Regions from separate parts of the Homo sapiens genome. Here region 1 is linked to region 2. The links are contacts of gene promoters, found by promoter capture Hi-C in human tissues and cell types (Jung and others, 2019). All regions are on one chromosome and are shown on one strand. Each heading gives the region's core, a stretch centred on a gene start or on the middle of the fragment in contact. The rest is flanking DNA. Distances are from core to core; before and after follow the strand shown. Region 1 overlaps LIN28B (lin-28 RNA binding posttranscriptional regulator B). Region 2 holds the start of PREP (prolyl endopeptidase).

Region 1 (3,674 bases), core at 437-2,936, 340 kb after region 2:
ATGAGCCTTTATATAAGACAAATAAATAAATATTCACTGAATCAATGAGTAAACAATATTATTTCTAAGGACAAAAAGGAAATTTGTTACCCAGTTAGTCATTCTACAGGATGTCATCATGCAACATTTTTGGACAAAAATTTTTACTAAAAGAACACGTGACAGTATTTTACCTTTTATGAGGTTTGTACTAAGAAATTTACATAAGAAACCATACATAAGAAATATGGCTCATAAGTGGACAAATGCTTAAGGCACTGACTGAAAGGAAATAACATAGAAATGAAAAAAATCAATCAAATTGATCATTCTAATCAATGTCTAAAAATGAAAATGTTTTGTCATAGGCTAAAGAAAATGACCACCTTCTAACAAAATTACGAGCCCTGAAAACTTTCAAAAGTATTTCATTTTGAGGATGTAAATGCAAGAACCACCAAGAACAATAAGCTGGAACCTCTTAGAAACGTATTTGAAAACTGAATCAGTATTTCCAAAATAGGTATGTTCCAGGATCATTCATGCAGAATTACTTGCATTCAACGGAAATCACCCATTATGAAAATTAGTATCTTCATACCAGAAACACATGCAAGAAACATTTGAGTTTGTTAAATTCTTGCTAATTTCCAATGCAGTTTTTAAAGCAGGATTTGATTTATATATTTCTAAATTATTTGTAATATCACTTAAAAATATATTTTAAAACAGTCCATTGGGGTCAAATGGTAACTGTTGCTGACGACTGTTCTTCCTGGTATAGCAATGGCTAATAAAATGTAGATTTTGTTAAATGCTGTAAGATAGAAAGTGTTATGTCTTTTCCAAAAATGACATAATCAAAAACAAAACAAAACAGAACAATGACACAATCACAATTACTGAGAGCGAGAGGGATGACTTTGTAAAGGAGTTGGCCTGGCTGCAACATAGTACTTAAAAGTTATTTTAAAATGAGTAAGGTTTAGGCTGACTCTGAGAGCCCTGCCTCAGAGTCAGCCCTGCTCCGCAAGGAGCAGTACCATTTAAGAAAATATTCCGTCTAAAATAAATAAATACATTAGAATAAAAATAAAAATGAGTAAGGTTTAAATAGATGCAGAGATGGGAAAGAAAATATGCCAGGCAAATAAATGGCCTGAGTATAACACCGAAGTAGAAAAGTAGAGGACATGTTTAGGAAGGCAAGTTGGCTGGCTTGGAAAAGAAAATGGAAACGAAGACTACTGAGCAGAATATTAAATATATTTTACAATGTAATATTTTTAAAACTTTCATCTTACAGTAGAAAAAAAAACCCCTAAGTTTCAAAGTTTATGTACACATTGTTCATGACCTCAAATCTAATAAAAAAGGGAATCCAGGATTTCAGCCTGTAACTCAGATGGTGGTCCATGATAAAACCACCTAATCTCTCTGGGTTTCCTCATCTATAAGTAAGCTTCATACTTCAAGAATTCATTTTTGAAGATGAACATAATTTCCACTTACTTCATTTGGTTGCTGTTGGTCTTAAATGAGATACATATTTTAAAATGTTTTGTTAATTATAAACCTCCATATATAAATGGTAGGTGAAATTTCTCCACTAGTGTTAAGACAATTCATGGTAGATGAATTGAAGCCCTCATGAACTGGGGGGTGGGGGTGGGGGGAGCGAGAGCAAAAATAAATAGCAGAAGAAGCTTAAAATATTTTTCTCTTTACAAGAATGCTAAAGAGATCAAACTAAATAGCCCAATAATGATACAATATATATATCTTATGAATGCTCTATAATTAATTTCTATTTTCCATTCCTTTTATACTGGAATTTTCTTGACCATCTCCTACTGTTCCATTTTGATTAGATATTAGTAAATTAATTTGCTTTGTTGCAGATGCCATGCATTTCTTCCTGTATGTAGTTCACTGTCTAAATATTTAATATTTTTCTGCTTCACCCCTTGGAGTCCCTAAAAATCAAATTGCAGGGTAACTTAGTTCATATAAATTCTATCAGAAAATTTGCAGATAAAGGAAATGATAAAGTAGACTATCTTTGTGTAGTACAGTTTTAAGTACTGGGAATTTGCTGACTATTCCTATATTCTAGGGACTGTTCTTTCATCTGGTTTTCAGAATATTAAAGTGGTTTTCTTTCTACCTTACTGATATAATTTTCCTATCTTGTTCTCAGTACCTTTCTAGAGTCACCAAGATCTATACTTATATTTGTCTACCAACTCCCTTTTGAAAAATTAATCAACTTCCTATATACAAACTACTTTCTTTACTCTGATCACTCACAAATTATTCCCACTTTTATGTTTTCTTGTAATCTCAAACTCAACTCATCTCTTCAAGGTCATTTTGACCCAACCCTAGTTTCCAAATCTCTTCCAATAAGTTCTACATTTATCATTGCATTCACAGTGTTTACTGGTATAATACCTGGTTGGCTCAAAGAAATGGAAAAAGCACTATTGAAAAAGTCACTATATTTTGGGCTTTAAAACATCATGCTTACTGGAAGTCAACTCTCCTAAACCCATGAAGTCATCTCAGCTTCCTGTCTATTTGGGAGTAGATTCCTGATCTCTAGCCTTCATGCCATGTCACAGATCGGTCACTGTAACTGATACTCCAGGTGCATCTATCAGTCTGCTCATACCACTCAGTCACCAACCACTGTGACCCTATTTATATTACTGTGGATAATATAAATGAAACGAACAAACAAAAAATTAATTATAGGTCAAGCACAGTGGCTCACTCCTATAATCTCAACAACTTTGGGAGGCAGAGGTGGGCAGATCGCTTGAGCCCAGTAGGTTGAGGCTGCAGTGAGCCATGATCACACCACTGCACTCCAGCCTGGGCAAAAAGGCGAGACCCTATCTCAACAAAGAAACAAACAAACAAAAAAATGAATTAGCAAATCAGTCACCTTCACCTTGTATTATTAAAAAACAGAGTAAAAGGCTGGGCACGGTGGCTCACGCCTGTAATCCCAGCACTTTGGGAGGCCAAGGCAGGCGGATCACCTGAGGTTGGGAGTTCAAGACCAGCCTGACCAACATGGAGAAGCCCTGTCTCTACTAAAAATACAAAATTAGCCAGCCATGGTGGTGCATGTCTGTAATCTCAGCTACTCGGGAGGCTGAGGCAGGAGAATCGCTTGAACCTGGGAGGCGGAGGTTGTGGTGAGTTGAGATTGCACCATTGCACTCCAGCCTGGGCAACAAGAGCCAAACTCCATCTTAAAAAAAAAAAAATACAGTAACATGAGAATAAAGAAAATGAAAAGGGAAAATATTGTAAGATGCTGGAATGTAAGGATGAAAAAAGAATATTTAGTACTAAAGGGCAGCATCATTAAAGTGGAAGAAATGCAAAATGACTAGTGTCAAATGCAATAAAAACATGAATTCCTATTTGCCATACTTTTTGGGCCAAATAGTATTGTCATACATTTTAGTAATATTTCAGAGTAACGGGCACCCACTGAGCTATAATGTAACTCTATGGCAGAAGCTTCATCTTTTGGGCAAAACTACTGCACAGTTCAATTTCCCTTTATCTAATCAATTTTTTGTCAAATCTTACTAAGCTTCACTTACCACTATAATGATTTTTCAATAAAATAGTAATGGAAAAACTACAAGTTAACCACATGTGGATGTGCATCTCTG
Region 2 (3,307 bases), core at 608-3,107:
CTCTCCCATCTTCCCTCCCACTCCATCTCACTCCAGATGCAGACAACCTACTGCTGGGAGCCTCTTGCACTGTCTGTGCCACTACAAACCTTTACCTCTCAGGGCCCAGAGGAACTGGGCACCAGAACGGCTGACTGAAAGGGAAGAGAGGATGATACCTAGGTTTGATTTGTCCTTTGGGTACCACAATTCCCACATTTTCTTTAGGTCCTGCTAAATTGAAGTTTTCCCTGCAAATGGGTGCCCTGTAGACTCTAGAGTATCTCTACTTATTTATGAGTAGGAAGGCCGTCAGAGTGGTTAAGAATGAGCATTGGTATTGGAGAGACCTAGGTTGGAATCCTGGCTCTACTTTTTCACTTTTTGTGAAGTCCTGGGCAAAAGTCAGCCCGTTTTCCTTAACTATAAAATAGGGACATTAGTTCTAGATAGTTTCCTGATACACTGAAAAAAACACTCCATAAGCATTAATATTATCATTAGGGGGTCTGCTGGGTCAAGTGCTCCTGGGTTGCTCTTTAAAAAATCCCTCACAGTGGCAGAAGGAGGAGACAATGCCTGCCAGTCCCTGCGTCAGGTGACAGCCAGGGAAGGCACGAGGTGGGAACTGGAATTGGGACTTCTGGGCTGTAGTGGGCTATGCCCCCGTGTTTGCACAAAGTTTGTTATCAATAGCGTGAGTTCTCCCAGAATTGAGGATTCTCAGATTGCCCCAGGAGGGGGTATCTGGGATCAGATGCAGAAAATGATTATGACACATCACTATGAACAGAAATGGTGAACTAAGGGTGAGGCATGGAATTGGGACCATATCACAAAAGAGACGGAGGACACAAGTTTATAATAGTTACCATATCCACTTAGATTCCGGAGGTGAAGGACTTTCTGGTCACACCTATTCTTTCTTCCAGGACTTTTTGGAAGCCAGGGATAGAAAACACACTGGGCACACACTATACCCCTGATGGCTGGGGCTATAAAGTCTCTTCTGGGTGGTCCAGGAAGCAAGACCAGAACACATACCGCTGCTGGCCCGAGGATGATGACATGTAACTATTAAATTTTCATGGGTTTGAGGTCAAGTATCTTGTCTATTATCTTTTCTTCCCATAAACAGTAGGTGCTCAATAAACAAGCATGACAGCAGGAGAGGAAATGAGGAAAAGGCAGGATAAATAAAATACCCCTGATGAGTTCCAGGCCTCTTAATCTTGGTTCTTTCTCAATCGGTAAATATCAAATAAGGGCTCAACCGTAGTCCTGCCAACACCTCCAAAGCATCTCCATAGTCCGGATGCTAAACCACCCAGTGTCCACCAGGGGTCCTGGGATGAAGGGAGACGTGTTTCTTTCACGGTCATCATGATCGATTACTTCTTCCCTTCAAGTCCAGAGTCGCAGGCAGTGGACATAAGGCCACCTCCAGCCCTCTGCTTCCAAGGCTGGGGAGAGGCAAGGTCTCCCTTCGCCGCCGTAACCAGCCCGGGAACAGGAAGGCTGGGGAAGGTGGGGGACTCCATCAGCAAGGAAACCCTGGGGCTTCACTCTCCTACAGGCGGTCCTGCGAGCGCGGCCAAAGAGAGGCAGGGCGCTAGGGAAGGCGCGGGGACCCGGCCTCGGTGGAAGGACTTGTCCCCGGCGCAGAGGACGGGCGGGCGGCCGGGCGTGGGCGAGCGCGTAGCCGGCGTGCTCCTCCGTGCGCCCGGGCGGCGCGGGCGCGGCCGGCGATCCTGCAGAGGGAGCTGTGCGCCGGCCTTAGCGCACGCTCGGTGCCGCCCGCTCCCTCTTGCCGCCGCCGCCGCCGCTGGGCCCGCCCGCCGGGGAGGGGCTCCCGGCCTCGCAGACAGCGGCTTCCTGCTTTCTGCACGTCCTCGCCGCCGCGCCGCCAGTCCGTTTGTGCTAGCTCTGGCCGTGAGCCGGCCGCCCGCTGCCGCCGGCCGCCCCGCAGCTGCCTGCGCCCCAGCCGCGCCTCGCGGCCAGCCCGGCTAGCTCAGGTCCGCTCCCGGAGCCCGCGCCCCTCCACGCTGCCCCCTGCCTGTCCCCGGCCATGCTGTCCCTTCAGTACCCCGACGTGTACCGCGACGAGACCGCCGTAAGTATCTCTGCCTCCGCCCAGAGGGCTCCCGGGCAAAGGTGCCCAGCCTGCCTGACCCGTGGCACCCGCAGCTCCTCTTCCTGTAGGCCTTCGACCCCCGCGTCCCTCCCCTCCCCCTCGGCCTTTGTTTGGGAGAATTGGGCCGGGGGCGCGGGGCTCCTCTGCAGCGCTGGGGTCCCGCGGGCGGTCACTCTGCTAGTGCTGGCGGCGGAGCCTGTGGGCAGCGCCGCCCGGCCGCTTCCTAGAATCAATGGGGTCAAGGGCAGACGCCCGGGTAGAATGGGTGTCTTCAGGGAGTGGGAAGACAGACGGTGTCACTGCTTTTTTGACTGGCGAAGCCTCTTGCTTAAATATGGTGGTAGGAGAAAGTGTCCGCTGGGGTGTGTGTGTGTGTTTGTGTGTGTGTGTGTGTGTGTGTGTGTGTGATGTCACATTTAAAAACGAAAACAAACTTTTAAAACTTACACTTTAAAGTCCTTAGAGTTGAAGCATATTCGTTCGATTTTAAAAGGTGTGTTGAGCGCCTACCCTGTCCCAGGTCGGATGAGGCGCACTGGGCCCTGGGGATGCCAGAGACCCGGACAGAAATGGGGAAGGCGGAGCAGTGACCCCATAGTGTGGCCGTGCTGATCCATGTTTTCTTAAACAAGAAAAGGAGTTGAGAGAGGGTGAGAGGAGGTCTTAGAAGGGAGAGGGGTTGACCTTTTTCAGAATGAGTAAGTTTTGTCTAGTGGCGGAGTTGACCACCATTTGCCTAAGCTGCAGATGAACTCAAGGTAACTGTTGAGATCCAGTAGGCGGAATTCTGGGCAGACACCTTTTTTGTGTAAACGTGAATTTGACGACTTAGGAACTGGATTGCATCCACATGTTGTGGCCGTGATTCTCTTACTAATAGCTACATTTCTCAGATTACTTAAAATATAATCAGAATAAGTATGTATTTGTGTGATACAGTTTTAATGTTTTTCTGTTTACTTTCCCAATTTATGCCAGAAAGTGTTTACTTTAAAGCACGTGCTACATTGGGGTAAAGGGTGCTGACGCTTCGGAGTAAAGGACATACTGTTTTAAATTAAGACTTCCAAGTGACACTGATGCATTCATTCATGGTTTCTTTGACCAGTGGCCATCTGGTAACCATGTTTTCTCAGTCTGCTCAGCTGCTTGCTTATTAAATTTACCCTAACAGCTCAAGAAGCTCTATTCCTG

What was found. Contacts are between HindIII fragments. The study calls those that stand out against the background at their distance.
Region 1: a fragment that was not itself captured here is called in contact with the fragment with the promoter of PREP in region 2 in 2 of the 25 tissues and cell types used here (H1 embryonic stem cells and heart left ventricle).

What each region holds. Positions count from the first base shown.
Region 1 is chr6:105,059,491-105,063,164 of GRCh38, reverse strand. All of the region lies in intron 3 of LIN28B (lin-28 RNA binding posttranscriptional regulator B), which reads right to left. Among named protein-coding and RNA genes, the nearest start is that of POPDC1, 76 kb to the left of the region's middle. The HindIII fragment of the contact is 5,121 bases long and covers 1-3,674 here.
Region 2 is chr6:105,401,632-105,404,938 of GRCh38, reverse strand. It overlaps PREP (prolyl endopeptidase), which reads left to right and starts at 1,857. Exons shown (of 15, transcript NM_002726.5): 1 at 1,857-2,092. The coding sequence starts at 2,048. RefSeq lists a silencer at 1,580-2,149. The HindIII fragment of the contact is 9,128 bases long and covers 1-3,307 here.